Linked DNA regions of Homo sapiens: region 2 is linked to region 1. The links are contacts of gene promoters, found by promoter capture Hi-C in blood cells and fetal thymus (Javierre and others, 2016). All regions are on one chromosome and are shown on one strand. The core of a region is centred on a gene start or on the middle of the fragment in contact, and the rest is flanking DNA. Distances in the headings are between cores, read along the strand shown.

What was found. Contacts are between HindIII fragments. The CHiCAGO score rates a contact against its expected background, and 5 or more counts as called.
Region 2: a fragment that was not itself captured here is called in contact with the fragment with the promoter of ATP6V1C1 in region 1 in 1 of 17 cell types (neutrophils); the score reaches 7.5 in neutrophils.

What each region holds. Positions count from the first base shown.
Region 1 is chr8:103,017,664-103,023,519 of GRCh38, reverse strand. ATP6V1C1 (ATPase H+ transporting V1 subunit C1) reads right to left here and starts at 2,437. Exons shown (of 13, transcript NM_001695.5): 1 at 2,295-2,437. RefSeq lists an enhancer at 1,998-2,207. The HindIII fragment of the contact is 13,168 bases long and covers 394-5,856 here.
Region 2 is chr8:102,633,931-102,639,786 of GRCh38, reverse strand. No RefSeq gene overlaps it. Among named protein-coding and RNA genes, the nearest start is that of KLF10, 19 kb to the left of the region's middle. RefSeq lists enhancers at 4,718-5,218, 5,219-5,719. The HindIII fragment of the contact is 7,166 bases long and covers 33-5,856 here.

The sequences.
Region 1 (5,856 bases), core at 1,188-3,687:
AGTTACGACTACCCTGTGAAGGGTACAAATAGAATCGAATCATTCTTTCCCTTCCCCAAGTCCTGAACCCTCTAAAAGTGAATACAGTTAAACATTCTGAAGTCCTCAGTGGAGAGAGAAGGTATCTTGTCTTCAAATCCTTCAGTGGATTACAACAATGTTCCCCTGAGCGGGTCTCCCCTCATTCACTTTTGCCACCCTCCACATTATCTCCCCCCCACCAAAAAAAAAAAAAAAAAGCCACAACCTGTCTCAATCCACTGCCTGTAATCTTCACTGGCTTCCCTCTGTTTTTAGAATAAAAGCTCTGCTTGGCGTGACCCCAGCTTTCTCCACCTGCCTCTCTCCCTCCCCGTTTCAGCCATGCTAGCCTTTCAAAAAGGCTGAAAAGCTTTCTTCCTCTTCACATTTCAGGGCCTTGACATACGCTGTTGCTTCAGCCTGAAATGTTCCTTTTTCGTTTTTCAGAGACAGGGTCTAGCTCTGTTTCCCAGGAGGGAGTGCAGTGGCATGATCACAGCTCACTGCAGCCTCGAACTACTGGGCTCAAATGATCCTCTCGCCTCAGCCTCCCGAGCAGCTAGGACTACAAGCACACACCACCACTCCCAGCTAGTTATTTTTTTATTTTTGGTAGAGACGGTGGTCTCACTATGTTGCCCAGGCTGGTCCTGAACTCCTGGCCTCAGGCAATCCTCCCACCTCAGCCTCCCAAAATGTTGGGATTATAGTCACGAGCCACCCTGCCAGGCCTGGAATGTTCTTTTCACTCACACCTTCACATTCCCTTTTCAGTCTCTTTTCAGATCTCAGGTCAAAAGTCATACCCTCTCAGAGCGAGAGGGTATGAAGAATATAAATAAAATTGTTTTAATCTTTAAAAAGTCATATTCTTAGCAATGCCTTTTTAAAATCTTCCATAATACACATGCCCCTACTACACTCTTTCATACCACTGTTATTCCTTCAAAGCACATTTCACGCTTGCTTGATTTTTAAAATCCATCCCCTCTGCTTGCCTGTAAGCTCTATAAAGACAATTTTCTAAACCCTACCATCAGCACTGTACCTGCATACAGCATGTATTCAGTACACATTATTTGCATGAATAAGTAAACGACTACCATTCAAAAGTCCTCGTTACCTGACTCCCAACTTTCTTTCCCACTTCTCCGCAGTGCAATCCACTGTAAAAGCTACTTCTGACTCCACCAGAAGCATTCCCTACCCCCATCTTCAGGCTTTCAAATCCTGTGGCTTTCCCTGCCTGTAAAATTATCCCCATTTCTCTCAACCTGTTCAAATCCTGAGGGCTTGCCAAGACTCAAGTTTTCTTTCCTCCAGAATATCTTCCCATAGTGCCAGTTTACACATGTGTCGTTGCTCCACACTTTCAAAGCACTTCGCATTCTCTTTTTGGTAAGTATACATAAACTGCATCGTATTTTAACGTGTCCTGTGTGTAGACTTTTCTCTCCAACGTTAGTGCTAACTCCTAAGGATAGACTGTTCACATCCCACCCGTTCCATTCCCAGAGCGGCGCTAAGTACTGGGCTCGCACTGAAGCATGTGATTTTTCCCTAACATACCAGAATTTTCCTCTGAAAAGAATACTAGCTTCCCCCTTACTCCTGTTTCTCAAGTGATTCAATATGCCTTATGTGACTCTCACCAAGTTCTTTTCTAGGGGTTTGTTTTGTTTTGTTCTGTTTTGTTTGCCTACCCTCCCCCATTCTACTAAAAAATAGTTGAGTTCTCTGGATTCCTGTTCTTTCTCATTCCTAGAGGGACCTTGTGTACTCTGTGAGGGTTCCTTGCCTGCAGTTAGGGGCTCCTAGGCCTTTAAACTGTCATCCCACCACCCCCGACCCCCGACACCCGCGCCCCCCCCAACACACACCCAGTGAAGGCACTTGCGCTAGCTGTGACCTCACACACACCACTCCATAGCCTCACCTGGACCTATCACTTCATTCCCCTCAATCAATCAGGCGGCGTGCATTCCTACCCAAGAAGAAAGATCCCAGACCGCTGTATCTCTCCTTTCTGCCTGTCATTAACTACCCACGAGAGCTCTTTCTCTTTTTCCCTCCTTCTCTTCCTTAGAGACGGAACCTAGGCCCAAGACGGTGAATTGGCGCCGAGAAACCAGACACAGCCACCCAGCCAGCTCCAGCTCCAACGCCACGGTCTCTGCCCCCGCACCCACCCGCGTCCCTCCCAGGCAGCGACCGGAGCTCATGCTTCGGCCTGACCAGGACTCCCCATCCGGGGAGAGCCATCGCTCACTGACCCAGGAAGGTGTCAAACGAGGAAGTAGCAGCAGTAACAGGTACCGAGGCAGACAGCCTAGCGGACGCTATCGGCTCAGCGATCCATCCCTTCCCGACCTAAGCTCCGGCCTCACGGCTTCCTCTACCCAAGCGAACACAGAACAAGTCACGTGCCAGCCCAGCAGTCAGCTGACCGCGGCGCGCGCTGCTCCGCCTACGCCCGCGCCACTGCGCAGCCGCAGCCGCTGCCACTGCCGGGCCTTGGGAGAGGGGCGGGACTAGGAGGCTACGGGGCGGCAAGGGGACCCTATATTCGGGGCTGATCGCTGTTGTTCCAGAGTGGGTGGGGTTTTCCGCTTCTTCCAGTGTTGCAAGTGGCGTTTTGTCCACCACTTGTAAACGTCAGCGCCACTGCAGGTTTCTGCGGGTCAGAAATTGTCTCCAACCCCCTACAAGGGCTTCTCCACTTGGGGTTTTCTTCGTCAGCTGGGTTTTCTACCTAGTATACTGGCTAGTAGTTCATTTTAGCAGATTCACATTTTCCTGAAGTCCACTTAGACTTAATTTCATAAATGGTCCATGGAGCATTTACTGTGCGCCAAGCACTGCGCTCGTTCTTAGGATTGCCTACTGGAGAGAATCACTCCTTGCCACGAAAGCGCCTCATAGATAGTTGAAACCACATTAGATAGTGGGAAACCAAAGGTTTTAGGACAGAGGCATAGACAGGGGAAAGCATCTCCTTTGGAGAAAAATAGGTAACAAGCTCCTCCCAGGAACCCTGCTTATTTCATTAGCTTGGGGAGATAGATAGTAATGTCCTAATTTAGAACACAGAGTTTTAGAAGTAGTAGAAATTTTGAGATGTTCTAATTTAATCCTTTTAGATCTACAGATGAAGAAAGTGAGGGCACGGAGTTGTTCAGCGCAAGGGAATAGATACCAGGTGTTGAATCCAGGCTCTCCTACTTACTAGTTGTGTGACCTTACTCCTCTGAATTTCAGCCTGTTCACATGCAAAGTGGTGGTAATAATACCTTACACAGGTATTGTGAGGATTAAATGAAGCCTGTGGTTAGCACAGTGCCTGGTACATAGGAAACAACCAGTAAATGGTCGTCATTATTACTATGTATTATAGGACCCAGGTTTTCTGACCTATACTATGCCTTTTCTGCTGTGTCCCCCTACAGAAATTCACCACAGAATTTCTCAGAGCCTCAGTATTAGGTTGGACAGAAAGTAACAACCACCAGACTATCCCCAACCTGACGCTTTCACCAGTTTTGGATGAAGTTCATGCAATTACAATAACCAGTTCTATAACATGGCTTCAGAAACTTATCAGAATTCCAGAGGCTTTTATCTGCCATCACGAAATGAGCCTAAAGGCATTTTTTTTTTGGTTAGGTCCACTAAAACTTTCTGCCATGATGCAAATGTTATCCTGTGCTGTCTGTACAGTACCCACTAGCTACATGGAGCCATTGAGCACTTGAAATATGGTTAGTGTGACTTAGTAACTGAATTTTAAAATTTATTTCACTTTAATTAAAATTTAAATAGCCACATGAGACCAGTGACAACAGCCTTAGACAGTGCAGTTTTAAGGTCCATGCTTGAACTATCTTGGTTTCTTCGTGCTTGTGTGTGGTCCTGAGGCAGACTTTTTGTCTTGGATTCTTAATTTCTAAACTGAATTATACCTCGCGCAACTTTCCAACATTTGGGGTTTTTTTTTTAGTTTTGGGGTTTTTTTTGAGATGGAGTCTCGCCCTGTCGCCCAGGTTGGAGAGCAGTGGTGCGATCTCAGCTCACTGCAAACTCCACCTCCCGGGTTCAAGCGATTCTTGTGCCTTGCCCTCCTAAGTAGCTGGGACTACAGGCGTGCACCATCACACCCAACTAATTTTTGTATTTTTAGTAGAGACGGGTTTTCCTCATGTTGGCCAAGCTGGTCTCCAAGTCCTGAGGTCAAGTGATCTGCCCACTTGGCCCTCCCAAAGTGCTGGGATTACAGGGGTGAGCCATCGTGCCTGGCCTCCAGTGTTTTAATTACCATGTTATACTTGGGAGGCAGTACAACAGAGTGTTCAATAAATGTTAGCTCTAATTTTTATGAGGTTTAATGTATCTCACTTAAAAATTTAGGAAACATAGCTGGGCATGGTGGTGCATGCCTATAGTCCCAGCTACTCGGGAGGCTGAGGTGGGAGGACCCCTTGAGCCCAGGAGTTCGAGGCTGCAGTGAGCTAAAATTGCACCATACACTCCAGCCTGGGCAACAGAGCAAGACCCCATCTCAAAAAATCAAATAAAAATCTAGCAAAGATGTTTAATATAAGCAGGGCATGATTGCTCTCCAGTGGTTTCTAATAGTAAAGTAATATGTTTTTACAGAGAAGCAACTCACTTTTTAAAAACTGTACTATGCATAGAAGCATACTAGGTAGCCATGGGCATGTCACACCTTTTCCTCCATTTCCACCTATCTAAAGACTACTCATCTCCAAACATCTAAGTTTAAAGCACTCCTAAGATGCATGGGAGAAGATTTATTTTTTTCTTACAACTTTTTCCGGGGAAAAAATTTATTTTTTCCTTTATTAAAATATTGAGCTTATTTCAGTTACATATTTTTGTCTTCCCACCATTTCCATTTGTCTGACCACAGCTACTACTATGTCCTATCATAATATTCCATACATACATATATACTGAAAACCAAGCAAAGAGCCAGGCGTGGTGGCTCACACCTGTAATCCCAGCACTTTGGGAGGCTGAGGTGGGCAGATCACTTGAGGCCAGGAGTTTGACACCTTCCTGACCAACATGGCAAAATGCCATCTCTACTAAAAATACAAAAATTAGCTGGGTGTGGTGGTGCATGCCTGTAATCCCAGCTGCTTGGGAGGCTGAGGCAGGAGAATTGCTTGAGCCTGGGAGCCAGAGGCTGCAGTGAGCCAAGATAGTGCCACTGCCCTCCAGCCTGAGTGACAGAGCAAGACTCTGTCTCAAAAAAAAAAACAAGCAAACGATGGAGTTTCATCTTTAAAAACTACAGGGGCATTTTGGACAACACATTTTTGGCAATGGAACCTGGACAATATTTATCCAACGTGCTAGGGAACTTCTCACTCTGAATTGTAAAAAGGACAGTTAGATATCAACTGTTACAGAAATGAAATGACAGATAATTTTTTTCTCTAAAAGAACTATTAACGAAATGACAGGTAATTTTTTTCTCTAAAAGAACTATTGGGTTAAAAGATTTAAAAAAAAAAAGAAGAAAGAAAATTTTAACAAGCTGTTTAAACTATTTTTTTTTTTTTTTGAGACAGAGTCTCACTCTGTTGCCCATGCTGGAATGCAATGGCGTGATCTCTGCTCACTGCAACCTCTGCCTCCCAGGTTCAAGCGATTCTCCTGTCTCAGCCTCCCAAGTAGCTGGGAATACAGGCATCCACCACCACGCCTGGCAAATTTTTTGTATTTTTATTTATTTATTTATTTATTTTTGGAGAGACAAGGTTTCACCATGTTGGCCAGGCTGGTTTTGAACTCCTGACCTCAAGTGATCTG
Region 2 (5,856 bases), core at 2,366-4,865, 380 kb after region 1:
ATTTTTTTCTCTAATTATCCCCAAAGTAAGCTTGTCCTCCTATGGACATAAATCAGATTCAGAATCCTCTCTCTATTCTCAACAATATCATTAATCATGATGGTCTTTTTTAAAATCCATATTTAGATTTGTTCACTTTGATTTTTCTAAGAGATTATATATTTTCTTCCCAAATTTAGTTCAACCAGGAACATTCAATCAAGGCTTTAGTCAGCTTTGCTGGTTAGAGTTATGGCCTGGCCAAGATGCCTTCTGATTCCATTCATCACATCCATTCTATTCTTTGCCAGTGTAGTTCTAATAACAATGATTTTCAAACAGAAAGGGGGCCTAAGTCCCCATCTCTATAGAGGTCATAAGGCTGAGTTCATCAAATATTTCAGACTCTTTAGCCAGGCGTGGTGATGCATGCCTGTAATCTCAGCTACTTGGGAGGCTGAGGCAGGGAAATTGCTTGAACCTGGGAGGTGGAGGCTGCAGTGAGCTGAGATTGTGCCATTGCATTCCAGCCTGGACGATGACAGTGAAACTCTGTCTCAAACAAACAAACAAAACAAATATATATATATATATTTCAGATATATTTGAGACTCTGCTTTTCAGACACATGGTAGCATTGCGCTTCCCCCTTGTGTCTGGGAGGTCTAGCCAATGGGCTGTGAATGGAAATAGTGACTTTCTCTCTACTGTGGTGACCAGCAATATTGGGGCTAGTCAGCCTTAGTTCTGGAGCAACTATGACAAGGAATCATGGGTGAGAATTGAACCTTGCTGGTTTAATTGTGATTGTGATTGGAGGGATTATTTGTTACTGCAGCATAACATTGACTTATATCTTATATAATGTATCCTGACTGATACAATCCCTTTTGTCTCATGAGGCTGCCTCTGAGTGAACTTATTCCCTCTTTCCAAGGGCCACGTCTGCATATCAAAATGTATTGAAAGAGGTGACTTTGAAGGACAAAAAAACCTCTAAACTCTTCCTCCCTGACAATAAGTACCTTATATTTGCATAATTAAGAGGGGCAAAATCCAAGCTCACTGGACCTTGAACAAAGAAGCACTGATGCATGGTGGCTGATAGTGTCTACCTGGTCTATCCAGACACAGGAGCAAGCTACATCTGCCTCCCCCTTCACACGCCACTAGAGCCATGGTTGAGCTGGAGGAGACAAAGTAAACGTTATGAACCACTGTTTTAGTCGTTGCAATGACACCATCTAGATAACTCATGAGGCCTTCTGAAATTAAGGCCTTAACTTTGGGATTCACAAATATTTCATGGTGATAATCTACTCCTCTCACCTGAAGCATCTTATGTGTAGGATGGACAACTGGAGGGTGAAGCCCTCTGGGAGGTGCTGCAGGGAGCAGGGAAGCAAGCAGCCCCCAGAGTTTTGTCCTTAGCAGCTTTGCAGACTAGAGAAGAAAGAACATACGACTGGCAATTGCTGCCTGGTGCCTAGTTTCAATGGTGAGGATGTTACACATGCTCAAGGAGTAAAATGTAATCTCCTTCCCCTAAGTTTTTTTTTTTTTTTTTTTTTTTGTTGGAGACGGAGTCTCACTCTTGTCATCCAGGCTGGAGTACAATGGTGCAATCTTGGCTCACTGCAACCTCCGCCTCCCGGGTTCAAGCGATTCTCCTGCCTCAGCCTCCTGAGAAGCTGGGATTACAGGCGAGTACCACCACGCCTGGCTAATTTTTATATTTGTAGTAGAGATGGGGTTTCACCATGTTGGCCAGGTTGGTCTCGAACTCTTGACCTCAGGTGATCTGCCTGCTTCCGCCTCCCAAAATGCTGGGATTACAGTCATGAGCCACCGCGCCTGGCCCTACTTCCCCAAATATTTTAAGAAAGGTAGCATAGTGTGGTGGCTAAAAGCACAAGTTCTGGACTGTTGGCTTTCAAATCCTAATTCCAACAACAACTGGCTAAGTGACTTTGGGCAAGTTAGGATGAAGTACAAGGTTGGAATTAACTAGCACACAGGAAGCATAGGAATGCCTGGCACAGAGCGAATGCCACGTCGAAGTGTTTACGAGAATGACGATGCCTGTATTTCAACAGCCACAAGGATCCTGTCTACGTGTAAGATTGACCTATTTGGGACCTTTCCCTTTAGGGGCAAAAAAGGGAGTTCTCATAGAGGACTTCATAGGCATGGTTCTTGGAGTGACACATGTGCTATTTGATAATAAAGATTCCAGAGTTAGGCAAGACAGCTGAGTCCCTGACTGTTGGTAGGAGCTGAAGCTGGAGCTATAAGCTGGCTCCTTCTCCTTGGGCTGTTGCTTGAGTGAAGAGGCTTTCAGCCTTTTTTTTGGAATCTGAACATTTTGGGGGATTGTTTGGTTCTGTTTTCAGGCTTTCTTTAACAGCTGTGTAGAAAATCCTTTTTAATGGGAGTAAATATGGCTGTGCCCAAACCACCCTGCATCTCTTGGCCAGTGCACAGGCACCCTAGGTGGTCTCTGCAGTGGCCAGCAGCCACTCTAGAAGAGGACTGGAGCAAGAACTTGGCCCTGGCCTTGACTCCTCTGCTCTGGTTTGGCTGGTTTAGCCCTGGACCTGCCCAGTGGCCATGTCTGGGATGGAGGTTAACAGGCAAGAACAACTTCAGGTCAGGCTGATCCTAGGATGCTCAACCCAGCCCCAGGCTAAACCCCCGAGGGAAGATCAGGGTGAGCTTTAAAGCACAAATTCTATTCTCCTGTGCTTGGAAAGTTGAAAACAAACCATTGTGATCCTGGGTTCAACCCATGGGCTTCCCCACTTATCTAGTCTTGGACATAACGTTTAACTTTCCCAAGCCATTACTCTCGGGTGTAGATAGAATGGACGTGATATTGAGACTCACCTCCAAAGAATTGTTTCAGGGGTGAGCAGACATACTGCATTGGAATTAGCCTGTATATAGAAGGTGCTCGATAAATGTTAGTTAGCACTGTTATCCTAACTCCCACCTCCCATCCCCACTGCAAGAGTATCCTGTCAATGCCTGTTTCTGCTCTTATTACTTCTCTTGTCTAGCAATGTCTTCTTCCTCTCCATGGTACACATACAACTCCTGTTGATGATTAATGCCCATGGCAGGGCAGGCGAGGGAAAGGGCCCATCCTGGAGCCACCTGGAAAGAGTTTGTATCTGTTTGCTCGGGCTGCCATAGCAAAGAACCACGAACTGGCTCCTCAGGCCAGACAAGAGAAGGAAGAGAAGGGAATAAGGGATGGAAAGAAAAACCAAAACTGGATTCCAGGGAAACCTCACTGGCCTGAAATCTTCTCCACATCAGCTGCTAGGCAGAGCTGCCTGCTGACTGAGTCCTGGCTGCCATCCCTGCTCAAAGGCCTGTGCTTACGCTCATGGAGGAAACTGAGGATGCTGGGACATTACTGGGGGACTGAAGTAGCCTTTTTTTTCTTTTTTTCTTTTTTTTTTTTTCCTTTTTTGAGACAGAGTCTCAGTCTGTCACCCAGGCTGGAGTGCAGTGGCATGATCTTGGCTCACCGCAACCTCCACCTCCTGGGCTTAAGTGATTCTCCTGCCTCAGCCTCCTGAGTAGCTGGGACTATAGGCGTGCACTACCATGCCCAGCTAGTTTTTGCATTTTTAGTAGAGACAGGGTTTCGCCATGTTGCTCAGGCTGGTCTCGAAATCCTGAGCTCAAGCAATCTGCCCACCTCAGCCTCCCAAAAGTGCTAGGATTACAGGCGTGAGCCACCGCACCCCGCTGAAGCAGCCTTTTTTCTGACATCAGACGTGGCACTTCCAACCCTCACCTTCAGGGACCTCTGTCATTGGCCAGCTCTCAGGCAGCAGAGCACTGCACTCGGACTGCAGCCTGGGGAAACCACAGTGTGAACCCAGAAAATCTGAGACAGATCTCAGTTAACTTAGGAAGTTTATTTTGCCAAGGTTGAGGATGTGTCCCTGACCCAGCCTCAGAAATTCCTGATGACATGTGCCCAGGGTGGTCGGGGCACAGCTTAGTTTTAAACATTTTAGGGAGACATAAGACATCAATCAATATATGTAAGAAGTACATTGGTTCGGTCTACAAGGGCAGGACAACTTGAAGCAAAGGCAGGAAGACTTGAAGGGGTGGGGCGGGGCTTCCAAGTCACAGATAGGTGAGAGAAAAATGGTTGCATTCTTCTGAGTTTCTGATTAGCCTTTGCAAAGGATGCAATCAGATATGCATCTATGTCAGCGAGGAGAGGGGTGACTTTGAATAGAATGGGAGGCAGGTTGGTCCTAAGCAGTTCCCAGCATGAGTTTTCCCTTTAGCTTAGTGACCCCAAGATTTATTTTCCTTTCACAGTGAGAAACCAGCCATTCACAGGATATCCATGCTTTTGGGGTATGTGGTGTGTGTGTGTGTGTGTTTAAGGGATAGAAACTGAAACATGTTATGTGATGAGCATTAATACTGACTTTTGCTTTCAGCTACACAAATGTTTACGGTGGTCTTGCTCTGTACAGGCCATGCTTCCAGAATTAGCAGTCTAAAATACAGATTTTTTCCCCCTGATTTGTCCCTTTTGTTGGTTTTTACTGGGGCCTGGCTGAACCAAGAGGTCAGAAATTCTGCCGTTCGTCCCCACCACTTGGTGTTCTGGTTTTGGCTGATGGATCGCTTTGAGTTTTTCTTTGCTGGTTGTGTTTAGATTAAGTCCCTGGTTAAGTGCACACCTTTGGCTGTGCTGTCTTGCCCCAGTTTTGGGTTTGTCCTACACCGTAGTGTGAGCAGCTGCTACAGGGCAAGTATTTCCTCATGTCAGTTGCCTGAGTGCCTCTTCTTGTGCTGAACAATGGGGTATTATAAATTCATATCCTCTCAGGGGTAAAATACAGAATTTAAAGATTCCTCCTGAGAGCCACCCCATTACCCATAGAGTGGGGTCCAAACCTCTCACAGCATTCAGAAGATTTTCATGATCTGACCATAGCCTCCTAGGCCAGCACATCCACCAACGCTGCCTCCCGTGAACTACAAACGCCAGGGGTATCACATTCCTGCCTTCGAGGAGCTCAGAGCTGGTGTGGAGAGTCCCAGAATGCCTTTACAGATCCAGTAACAACGGCAGGCTCCCCTAAAAGAGCCACTTACACACTCAGAGACACGTGTGGAGGTGGCAGGAATGCTGGGCAGTGCAGCCCTGCTTGCAGGTCGGATGCTCTAGCTCGACGCCCATCCTTCTTGGCCTTGTTGTCATCTGCTTTCTCTCTGGAAAAGGGCCTGCCCCTCCCCCCTGCCCTCCTAGCCTGCGCCACAGCATGCACAGGTCTCCTTTTGGAGGCAAAGATGTCTCTCAGTGACACACCACACGGTGTTTCCACCTAGCACAGGTCTTCACGTCCCCTGAGCCCACCTATCACACACTCCTGCCCTCCGCAGGCCTCTGCTGGTACAGACTGGCCAGATTTAGGTGGAGTGGGAGAGACAGCCCATGAATGGGGATACCCGCAAGATGCAGGCTGAGTGCGGCAGGGCCCCTGACCTCCAGTTTTGTATACATTTTGGAGGGGAAGACTCTTATTCTCAGCTTCCCAGTTCTGACCAGAGGACTTTTTCCGTGTATTCACAGAGGGTCCGTCTCTCAGCAACAGACTAAAATTACAAATTCCACAAGACTGCTGTCCAAGCCAGAATGACATTTAAAAATTTTTTTTTAATTTAAACTTAATTTCTTATCTTTTTATTTAATTTTTTGTTCGTAATTTTTCCCCATACTATGCTGATATAGAGAATGACAGTTTATTACTTTCTGCTGGATATTAGTTATGGGGGATATTAGTTAAGGTATTTGGCCACTGTAACAGATGATCCAGAAATTTTTTTTTCCTG